Linked DNA regions of Homo sapiens: regions 1, 2 and 4 are each linked to region 3. Evidence: promoter capture Hi-C in human tissues and cell types (Jung and others, 2019). All regions are on one chromosome and are shown on one strand. The core of a region is centred on a gene start or on the middle of the fragment in contact, and the rest is flanking DNA. Distances in the headings are between cores, read along the strand shown. Region 1 overlaps MMP24-AS1-EDEM2 (MMP24-AS1-EDEM2 readthrough). Region 2 overlaps MMP24-AS1-EDEM2 (MMP24-AS1-EDEM2 readthrough). Region 3 holds the start of MMP24 (matrix metallopeptidase 24). Region 4 has its middle 20 kb from the start of TRPC4AP.

Region 1 (2,700 bases), core at 1-2,500, 93 kb before region 3:
GGGGCAAAAGGGGACTTCACCAATGTCACTGAGTACCCTTTTTTGTATCCTTTGACTTTTTTTTTTTTAATTGTTCAGTCTCTGTAGAGACTGTGAAAAATTGGCAATGCCGGCCAGGCGCGGTGGCTCATGCCTATAATCCCAGCACGTTGGGAGGCTGAGGGGGGCAAAATCACTGGAGGTCAGAAGTCCGAGACCAACTTGGCCAACATGGTAAAACCCTGTCTCTAATAAAAACACAAAAATTAGCCAGGCATGGTGGTGTGTGCCTATAATCCCAGCTACTCAGGAGGCAGAGGCATGAGAATCACTTGAACCCAAGAGGGGGAGGTTGCAGTGAGCCGAGATCGTGCCACTGCACTCCAGCCTGGGCGACAGGGGGAGACTCTGTCTCAAAAAAATAAACAAAGATACGTATTTTTCTATTTTATTGTATTTATTTTATTTTTTGTATTTTTAGTAGAGACATGGTTTCTCCCTGTTGGTCAGGCTGGTCTCGAACTCCCGACCTCAGGTGATACGCCTGCCTTGGCCTCCCAAAGTGCTGGGATTACAGGCGTGAGCCACTGCGCCCAGCCAAATATATGTATTTTTCATATGGCTTAGACCCTCATGGAAGCTGGTAACTTCATCTGGTACTCAAAGAAATAGCTAACTGTTCCGCGTTGGTTTGTGTCCCCCCAGGAGCACAACCTCATTCTGCCTGAAAGTAGTTGATTTGGAAGGTAAGTCCTTGTAAACACCAGTAGAGGAGGGGGAAGTGAGGCAGGGCAAGGGAGGCGGCATTTAAGGGGTATGCCATCAGGCAGGTTTCCACCATGGGAACTGGAGTTCAATCTTGCTGGGGAGCTTAGGAATTCAGTGTAGAGCTCCAGCTTCGGAGTGATCCCACCCAAGGGGCAGGGAACTGGAATGTTTATCCACCAACTCCCATCAGTATCAGTTACCGGCTTGAGAGCTACTCATGGGTAGCATTAAATCCTGGTACCCTCAGCCAAAGGCAAGCAGAGTGGCTCCAGGCACCAGAGGAGACCCACAGGCAAAGAGGCGCAGGTGATGGCAGTTGGAAGACTGGCCAGTGTGCATGGAAATGTTAAGAGTTGAGAGGATATGGGCATGGCACCAACAGAGTCTACTACGGTCCCACTGCTGGAGCAAAACCTGCCTGAGATGGACTAAGGGATTTACTACAGGTCTCCAGCGGGGCACCTTTTTTTTTTTTTTGAGATGGAGTTTCGCTCTTGTTGCCCAGGCTGGAATGCAATGGCGCGATCTCGGCTCATCCCAACCTCCACCTCCCAGGTTCAGGCAATTCTCCTGCCTCAGCCTCCCAAGTAGCTGGGATTACAGGCATGCACCACCACGCCCGGCTAATTTTGTATTTTTTAGTAGAGATGGGGTTTCTCCATGTTGGTCAGGCTGGTCTCGAACTCCCAATCTCAGGTGATCCGCCCGCCTCAGTCTCCCAAAGTGCTGGAATTACAGGCGTGAGCCACCGCACCCAGCCTTAGGGGGGCACCTTCTTAAGGGATTTTCGGGGAGTCCTCACACAAGCTTTACTTTTCAAGCTGGATTAGCACCAGACTGCATAAAATGTGCCTAGACCTAAATGCAGTCTTCCTAAGTCAGAGTGACTCAGCAAAGTTGGTATTAATATATTAACGTTACTGCTGAAGTAACTGAGGACCAGAGAGGTTGAGTGACTTGCTCAGGGTCACACAGTTTCGATGTAGCAAGGCCAGGGCTTGAATCCAGTTCTGACTAAATCCAGTGTTATGTCCTGGATGGCTTTGGCTCAATTACTGTTAATCTTATTGATTATCCCATTTAGAAGCTGAAACTGACCTTAGAGATCATCTGGTCCAAAGTGTGTTCAATTTCCATGGGTTAATAGTACTGGAAGATAAAGGGAAGCTCTGGTGTTAAATAAGTTTGGGAAATGTTAAATTAAACAAAGTTGAATAGATTTCTTTACTAGAGGATTTTTATTCTGCTCATGTGCATTCTGACTCTCCAAAAAAGGGGGGGATATTATATCTAATATTCCCCTAACTTAATTGGCCAAGACTCATTTTTTCATGCAACTGCCACTCAGTATCTCTCAGAACCGGTGTCCTAAGAAACACAGCAAATACAGATAGACGCTAAAAATGAAGGCCGGACGAGCTGATGATCTGAAGCCGTCAAGTGAGTCAGGGGCATGAAACATACGACCCTCTTCCTAGAAATCAGAGAATCTCAACTGGTCAAAGCTGAATGCAGCCCCTGCTGCCTGCCAGAAACGTGCTTTCCCACTCTCCTCCCCACTCCAAGCCAAACTTGAATTGGAGGCTTGGTCTATTTTTGGTGTCCTGAGCCCAAATCCTGGACCACTCCCAAGGTCACCCTAAGTTTTCCTTGGCTTGACTGCAACTTATTGCTCAGAGCCCTGGGCCTCGTAAGCAGGGACTCAAACAGGAAGGGCAGCAGCGAACCTACCAGCCCGATATCTGACCGGCTCTCCCAGAGGCGCATCAAAGCCACTCTGGCCACATCTTCGAACACCGGGTCACCAGTGAGGCTGCTCAGGGTGGCAAATTCAACAATGAAGGTCCCAATCCCTGCCGTACAGGTGACAGGGGTCTCTCCTGGGTTCACGCCATGAAGTAAGTTCACTGTTCCATATGGCATGCCAGTGGGGGTCTGAAAGGCTGAACAATC
Region 2 (2,700 bases), core at 23-2,522, 77 kb before region 3:
ACTACCCTGGGGCACTATAGCTTTCAGGAGGTTTGTGATCCATTTCTCCATTCCCCTTATTCCCAAGTTTCTAAAATTTGGTCAGCACCTTAGACCACAGCAACACCCATGACTTTGGTCAGTGTGACATGCGGTAGAACCAACACTGGATTTGAAGTCAGATCTAGGATCCAGTTAATTACAACTCTGTCACTCATCTATAACCTGTGTATGTGACCCTCTCCTTCTCTGGGGCTAGCATCCTTGTCTATAAATAATGAGGAGTTTGAACAAATGGATCTTTAAGATCCTTTTCGGTCGAGCTTTCTATGATTCTAGGATTGGCTATCTCTTATTTGCTGAAAAAGTCAGATGGAAGTGATAGCTCAGTTTGTTGAGCCAGAGTGCAGCCAGGCCTCCCAAAGTGCTGGGATTACAGGCATAAGCCACTGTACCCAGCCTGGGATGTTTTTAGAAACTCTTCTTGGCCGGGTGCAGTGGCTCACGCCTGTAATCCCAGCACTTTGGGAGGCCAAGGCGGGCGGATCACGAGGTCAGGAGTTCAAGACCAACCTGGCCAATATGGTGAAACCCTGTCTCTACTAAAAATACAAAAATTGGCCGGGAGTGGTGGCAGACGCCTGTAGTCCCAGCTACTCAGGAGGCTGAGGCAGGAGAATCGCTTGAACCCGGGAGGTGGAGGTTGTAGTGAGCCAAGATCAAGATCAGGCCACTGCACTCCAGCCTGGGAGACAGAGCGATACTCTGTCTCAAAAAAAAAAAAAAAAAAGAAACTCTTCTTGGGGCTTCCAAATGGAAGGGAAAGGAGATGACAGTAAGCTGAGACCTGGATAACAACACAGGAGCACTGTATTCGTTTCCTGTGATTCCTGCAACAAATTACCACAAACCAAGTGGCTTAAAGCAACAGAAATTTATTCTCTCGCAGTTTGGGAGGTCAGGAGCCTGAAATCAATTTCACTGGGCTAAAATTAAGTTATTGACAGGGCCACACCCACTCCAAAGGCTCTAAGGGATAATCCGTTCCTTGCCTCTCTAGATTCTCCTGACTGCTGGCATTCCTTGGCTTATGGTTGTATCACTCCAGTATCTGCCCGTGCCTTCATATCGCCTTCTCTGTGGATGTGTCACATCTCCTTCTGCTTTTCTCTTATAAGGACATTTATAATTGCATTTAGGACCCCCCCCGCGCCCCCCCCAACCCAGATAATACAGGATAAACTCCCATTCCAAGATTTTTAACTTAATCACATCTAGGGGGAAAAAAAAAAAAAAACACCATTTTTCCAAATAGAGAAACATTTACAGTTTCCAGAGATTAGGACCTGGACTTTAGGTGGCTGTTTCCAGCCTAGCGCAGGGACTAAATATTTTTCAGACCTGGGCCTTTCCCTGTGACGAAATTCACCTTCTCCATATTATAAATCCTATAGCTTATCTTTTTGTCTCCCATTCAAAATTCTAGTGTGGATAAAACTTTTGCAGGAAGGGTGGGTTCAGGTTGCCTGGATTTGGTAACGATAGGTCTCTCTTTATGAGCAAGATTGAAACACTCATGATTTTCCTTTATATTCTTTTTCTAGCTTGATGTCATTCTCCACACTGTCACTGAACAAATAAAACCATGACTTACGTTTTCACAATTCATGTGACTATATGTTCTCTAATGAGAATAAAAAAATTGTTTTACCCTCTGGAAAGTATCAGGACTCTTCTTTCTCTCACTCTGTGTTTATGATATTGGATTCTAGAAGGTTATGACCCACCAGTGAAGTGTCACACTTGAGCATTTACTTGTGAAGAGACTCAGGGTAAGTTGCCTACCTCTCTGAGACTCAATTTCCTATTGTAAAATACAGAAATTGATGAGGCCATAAAGGAATTCTGGGAATTAAATGGGATAATGAAAGTGAACATTCTCAGCACAGTGACTGGTATATATTAAATTCTTGATACATATTAATTCTCTTCCCTGCCTCCCCAACTCTTCTTTTTTTTTTAAGGCAGGGCAGTTGTTTCCATTTACTGAGCATCTGCCCCGAGTCATCCAAGGTGTTATAGGCAATAGTTCCTACCCTCAAAAGTTTGAGGCACAGTGCTGAGCATATAACTAAGATTCCAAAATAATCAAGTCATAGTCCTTTCCCTTGAAGTGCTTGCAATTTTGTTAGAAGGGGAAGATGTCAATTGGAGAATACTTGGAATCATAGGGTGTTCAAGTCTTCCCTGTGGGTGAATAGAGTTTGGAGGGAGCTCAGATCACATCAGTATCTGAGGCCAATGTCCTCGGACTCTGTGTTCAGTGGAACAAGACTTGGACTGGTTGTCGGAAACCCTTGGTCTTGTTACTTGTTTATCCACTATCTCTGTGTGATCTCGGGCAAGTCATTTTCCCTTTTGGGGACTCAGTTTCCATATCTGGAAGATGAAAGAGTGAGACTATCTCTCAGCACAAGGAAAATATTAACAGATCCATACAGTTATTGCAAAAAATCAGAAAACAGAATTCAACACACATCGACTGCACAAATTTCCCCCAGAAACATCCATGAAGCAGAATAAAACAGTGGGACAGCATTCCAAATGGAATTTGACTATTTGCCAACTAAACAAGGAAGAGGAGGGGGATGGGGAGGGGGACAAGAAGAAGAAGGAGAAAATAGTCACGTGTATTGATAATAGCGAACATTTACATAGCAA
Region 3 (2,700 bases), core at 43-2,542:
AAAGCCTGTGCCCTTTTTTCATCTCCAAATTACCACGTAATCATAAAATACTATTTTCACACATCATCCTGCTTAAACACACACATACACACACACACACCACACACACACAACCTTTAATGACCACCCTCCCCCATTTTCCTTCAGAACACAACCCAAATTTATTATCCTAGCATTCACTGTCTTGTACAACTTCCCTCACTTCCCAACACTTTCCTATAGGAACCCTGTGCTCCAGAGAAACTTATCTGCCGCCTCAGGCACATCCTGTACACCCTCAACTTCCTCCCTGAAATGCCCTCTCCTCTCCCCTCCCCTGGTTTAAATCCAGCCTTTCCTTCAGGTCCTAGCTAGAGTCCCACCCTCCTCCATTACACTTTTTCCTAACTTCCCCAGCCCCTCATCAGGTCTCCCTCGACCCCTGGAGCAGCCGCCTGTATCCTTGTTGACACGTGGTGTTTGCCATTCTGTTTTTCTTTGCGTTTATGTTTTCTCATCAAGCTGTAAACCTCTGCACTCCAGGAAATCGGCCTTCTCTTTTTTGTTTTTGTTTTTGGGTGTTTTTTTTTTTCCTTTCAGCATCCCAAGTAGCCCAGAGCCCTACAAATAGAAAGCGCTTGATAAATATGGGTTGTTTTGGATGAAAGATGATCTTCCCAGCTGGATGAGCTCTTTCCCTCTAGGGGTGAGGGACTGAGCTTCACCTCAACTTCACCTAATGTCTCACAGGAATGCCCCCTCTTAAACGCTCCTCAGGTCTTCTCTACCCCTTTCCCCCACCACCCCGGCCCAGGAGAGCCACTCAGAGCTCCCTCTCCGGAGTCACCCTCTCAGACCCAGGGCTATTTCTTTAGCTTGCTCTCGAACCCCGCCTTTACCCCAGAGCCGCTCCTCAGTCTCCTCCCCCAGGCTGCCTCTCAGGCCCCCTCTCCTCCAATGCCACTCCCTAGGACCCTCTCCCCAGGGTTCCGGACCCCCAACCCCGGATATGTTCCCCCAGGGCCATCCAGTTGTTCTACCTCCAGGATTACTGATTTAGCCTCTTCCCCCTCCTGCTCAGGGCTACCCCCAGACCCCGACCTCCAGTTCCACCCCTTCGGACCCTGCCTCTAGAACTGTTCTTTTAGCCTCTGCAACCCCCTCCCCAGCGCCGCTCCGCGGCCCCTGCCCCAGGGCTGGTCGGGGAGCCACTGCCCTCGCAGGTCCCGCCCGGGTGCTGCCCCCGCGCCCCCGGCCGCCCCCCACCGGGGCGGGGCGCGCGGAGGCGGGGGCGCGCTGGCGGCCGAGGCGGCGGCGGCGGCGGCGAAGGCAGGCGGGCCGGGCGCGGGCCCCGCCGCCGGGATGCCGAGGAGCCGGGGCGGCCGCGCCGCGCCGGGGCCGCCGCCGCCGCCGCCGCCGCCGGGCCAGGCCCCGCGCTGGAGCCGCTGGCGGGTCCCTGGGCGGCTGCTGCTGCTGCTGCTGCCCGCGCTCTGCTGCCTCCCGGGCGCCGCGCGGGCGGCGGCGGCGGCGGCGGGGGCAGGGAACCGGGCAGCGGTGGCGGTGGCGGTGGCGCGGGCGGACGAGGCGGAGGCGCCCTTCGCCGGGCAGGTGGGGCTGGCGCGCGGGGCCGGGGCGCGGGCTCGGGGCATCCGGGCAGGGCGGGGGGCGGCACCGGGGACGGGCCTGGGCCGGGCCGCACCTACTGCCGAGGTCGCGGAGGCGGCGCGCCGGGGGTCCGCGCCTTGGGTCCGGGCTGGCGCGGCCCAGGGCGGGGGCTGGGGAGGGCCTCGCCGAGGGCCGCCGAGGCCGGGAGCTGCTTCAGCACCGCGGACAGGGGCAGCGGGCGGGGGCCGAGCACGAGGGTCGGGTTTGTTGTGTTGGCAGTGGGGTGTGTGGCCTGCATGACTATGTGCGAGGGAAACCGTACAACGCCTCGGAGTAAATAGTAAGCGCAGCCAGTCTGTTGTGGGTTGGGAGAAGAAACCGAGGATGTTCAAGCTGGAGAAGGGGGAGGGGGAGGGCGGAGGAAGGACTCGATCACTGTCTTCGTAGCTGAAGGGCTGTCAGGTGGAGGTAGGATAGACTTGTTCTAGCTTGGCCCCACAGGGCAGAACTAGGGCCAGCGGGAGTGGGGGTTGCAAGAAGACAAATTTGGGCTCGATATAGGAAGAAGTTTGTAACAATTGGAGCTGCTCAACCAGCTTAGGAGGCGGCGAGCTGCTCATCACTGGCATGTGCAAGTAAAAGCTCTCGGAGGGGATTGGATGGAGGCATGCATAATGCTTGCATGGATGCATACATCATCATCACAATAATGCCAGCTAGCATTTACTGAACACTCACTATGTGCCAGGCCTGGTGCTATGTTTTATACGAATTATCCAATTCAATCCTCATAACTACTCTATGAAATAGCTGCAATTATTATCCCCATTTTACAGATGGGGATACAGACTCAAAGAGCTTAAGTAACTTGCCCAAGGTCACACAGCTAGTGAGTGATGGAATTGGAATTCTAACCTAGGCAGGCTGACTCTAGTCTCCCCTTATTTACCCATGACCTTATCCTATATCTCATGGGGGGTGCAGTTGGACTAATTTCTCTAGTATCTTCCAACCTAGAGGACTGCAATATTCTAATAAATGATGTTGGGACAATGGTGTTTTGCTGAGGAAAATCAGAGTGATAGCCTCGCCACCCTAAGAGATGGAGTATATTTG
Region 4 (2,700 bases), core at 142-2,641, 110 kb before region 3:
GTACAACTTTCTAAGTTAGGGAAGAGCAGGGTTTAGGAAAGGACTTTCTTTCGTCTCTCTGATCTGGCCTGGAATCCGGGGTGTTGACTAATGATCAAGGGTATCCCTGGGTGTGGGGATGAGCTGGCCTTGGCCACAAAGAAGCCTGAATAATGAAGTGGACTGTGGTTCTAAGAGTAGTCATAGCTAATAGTAGCTGTTAGCTAGTAGATGATGTAATTTCCTTCCATTATGCCTCAGTTTTCAGTCAAGACTTCTTCAAAGTTATAGCAGTTCTCGTCTAGGTTATGGGGAATTATGTGTAGGCCTGAGTCTCTATTTGAGGCAAAGTAATAGAAGAGAGGGCAGGAGGTATATCCCTGCCTATCAAGGTAGCCAGAGGTTTGCCATGGTACTGAAGAAAATGATCAGCAGCTGAATTAGCCAAGGTTCATGGGCAAAGATGAGGCTGGCAGATAAAGCCAGACAAATTCCTGGTTAAAAGTCACCTCCTGAGCTATTTAGAGAAACAGTTGATTCAGGGCTGGGATAGGAACGGGATCAGCTGAGCTTGGAACATCTTGTAATACCAGAAAGCAGGACACTATCAAAGACTATTGGGGTTGTGTTAACAGGACTCAGGGCTAACTTGAAGAGAGGCTTCCACTGGCCAGAAATGGGACAATTTGAGCTTTGATAAGAAAAATAATTTCAATGAACTGAAAACCATCAAATGAGTTTAAATCCAAGAGTTCACAATACTTGAAAAACAAAACTTCATTGTCACAATTGGAAGATGCTAGGAAAATGATGCATTATTCTGGAAAATAAAAAATAAAAGTTAAGAATCAAATATTTATCCTGGCTTTCCTGAATGAACTGTGCCCCAAGGAACCCAAATAGTTGACGAGAGGAAGTCTTTCTTTAGAGAAGTAGTCTAGCCTTGGCTGGGCATGGTGGCTCACACCTGTAATCCCAGCACTTTGGGAGGCCAAGGTAGGTGTATCACCTGAGGTCAGGAGGTCGAGACCAGCCTGACTAACATGGTGAAACCTTGTCTTTACTAAAAATACAAAATTAGCTGGGTGTGGTGGCGCATGCCTGTAATCCCAGCTACTTAGGAGGCTGAGGCAGGAGAATTGCTTGAACCCGGGAGGCAGAGGTTGCGGTGAGCCGAGATCAAGCCATTGCACTCCAGCCTGGGCAACAAGAGCAAAACTTCATCTCAAAAAAAAAAAAAAAAAAAAAAAAAAAGAGAAGTAGTCTAGACTAATTAAAATCTCACTATTTTGAAACCCCTGTTGAAATAATGGATCCAAGCAATGACCAACAAATGGCTGTTAGTAACAGGCAAGGAGACATCATGTGTCTCTTGACCAAAAGAAACAACAGTGCTTATTCTTGAAAAATAAAAACACCAGCCTAGACAACATAGCGAGACCCCATCTAAACAAAAAATTTAAAAATTAGCCAGGTGTGGTGGTGTGGGCCTGTAGTCCCAGCTATTCGGGAGGCTGAGGCGGGAGAATCACTTGTGCCCGTGAGGCTGCAGTGAACTGTGATCACCCCACTGGGTGACAGGGTGAGACGCTGTCTCAAAATACATAAATACACAAATAAAAATAAAAACAAAAGTAAAAATCCAAATCTGATGATGTCTCTAGATCTTAATATCAACTTTAAAAAACAGTTATATAATAAATACCTCAGAGATGCAATTAACAAAATCCATAATATGGAAACCTACAGGACATACAACTGTTGTCTTCAACAAACAAACTGCAATGAAAATAGAGGAGGAGTGGGAAAGGAGGGAGGGAGGGAGAGGGAAAGAATTCCTGTAAATTAAAAGACATTTCAGAGATATATCATCTAATTTCAAATATATAAATCAACCCTATGTGGGTCCTGATGCAAACAAACTATAATACAAAGTTATGAAACAAAACATTTTGAACATTGGAGAGGATATCAAGGAATAATGATTTATTTTTATAGGCATGCTTTGGGGATGCATTCTGAAATACTTTTAGGAATAAAATGTTTGGAATCCTAAATAATCTAGTGTGGATATAAATGAAATAAGGTTGGCCATGAATTCATCATCTTTGAAGCTAGTTTGTTGAAATTGGGTGATGAGCACACAAAGGATGGATGTCCTGTTCGCTCCATTTTTGTTTATTTAAAATTTTACTTAGCCAGGCATGGTGGCATGCACCTGTGGTCCCAGCTTCTTGGGACGCTGGGGTGGGATGACCGCTTGAGCCTGGGAGGTGGAGGCTTCAGTGAGCTCAGATCATGCCACTGCATTCCAGCCAGGGCATGAGTGAGATCCTGTCTCCAAATAAATAAGAAAATAAATAAAAATAAAATAAAATAAAATAAAATAAAAATAAAAAAATAAAAAATAAATAAAATAAAATAAATAAAAAATAAAATAAAAAAATAAATAATAAAAATAAAAAAATAAACAAAATAAAATAAAATAGTACATCCTGGCCAGGCACGGTGGCTCATGCCTCCTAGCACTTTGGGAGGCCAAGGCAGGCAGACTGCTTGAGCTCAGGAGTTTGAGACCACCCTGAGCAACGTGGCAAAATCCCATCTCAACAAAAAATACAAAATTAGGAAAATTAGCCAGGCATGGTGGCATGCTCCAGTTGTCCCAGCTACTCGGGAGGCTAAGGTGGGAAGATTGCTTGAGCCCAGAAGGTCAGGGAT

Evidence for each region. Contacts are between HindIII fragments. The study calls those that stand out against the background at their distance.
Region 1: a fragment that was not itself captured here is called in contact with the fragment with the promoter of MMP24 in region 3 in 2 of the 25 tissues and cell types used here (H1 embryonic stem cells and IMR-90 fibroblasts).
Region 2: a contact is called between a fragment that was not itself captured here and the fragment with the promoter of MMP24 in region 3, in 2 of the 25 tissues and cell types used here (heart left ventricle and small bowel).
Region 4: a contact is called between a fragment that was not itself captured here and the fragment with the promoter of MMP24 in region 3, in 2 of the 25 tissues and cell types used here (IMR-90 fibroblasts and lymphoblastoid cells).

The regions. Positions count from the first base shown.
Region 1 is chr20:35,132,260-35,134,959 of GRCh38, forward strand. MMP24-AS1-EDEM2 (MMP24-AS1-EDEM2 readthrough) reads right to left here. Exons shown (of 15, transcript NM_001355008.2): 10 at 2,479-2,690. It overlaps EDEM2 (ER degradation enhancing alpha-mannosidase like protein 2), which reads right to left. Exons shown (of 11, transcript NM_018217.3): 6 at 2,479-2,690. Among named protein-coding and RNA genes, the nearest start is that of EDEM2, 14 kb to the right of the region's middle. RefSeq lists an enhancer at 1,113-2,312. The HindIII fragment of the contact is 9,994 bases long and covers 1-2,700 here.
Region 2 is chr20:35,148,750-35,151,449 of GRCh38, forward strand. All of the region lies in intron 5 of MMP24-AS1-EDEM2 (MMP24-AS1-EDEM2 readthrough), which reads right to left. Among named protein-coding and RNA genes, the nearest start is that of EDEM2, 2.8 kb to the left of the region's middle. The HindIII fragment of the contact is 8,464 bases long and covers 1-2,700 here.
Region 3 is chr20:35,225,398-35,228,097 of GRCh38, forward strand. MMP24 (matrix metallopeptidase 24) reads left to right here and starts at 1,293. Exons shown (of 9, transcript NM_006690.4): 1 at 1,293-1,587. The coding sequence starts at 1,342. The region is part of intron 3 of MMP24-AS1-EDEM2 (MMP24-AS1-EDEM2 readthrough); the gene reads right to left. The HindIII fragment of the contact is 20,114 bases long and covers 1-2,700 here.
Region 4 is chr20:35,111,178-35,113,877 of GRCh38, forward strand. No RefSeq gene overlaps it. Among named protein-coding and RNA genes, the nearest start is that of TRPC4AP, 20 kb to the left of the region's middle. The HindIII fragment of the contact is 9,872 bases long and covers 1-2,700 here.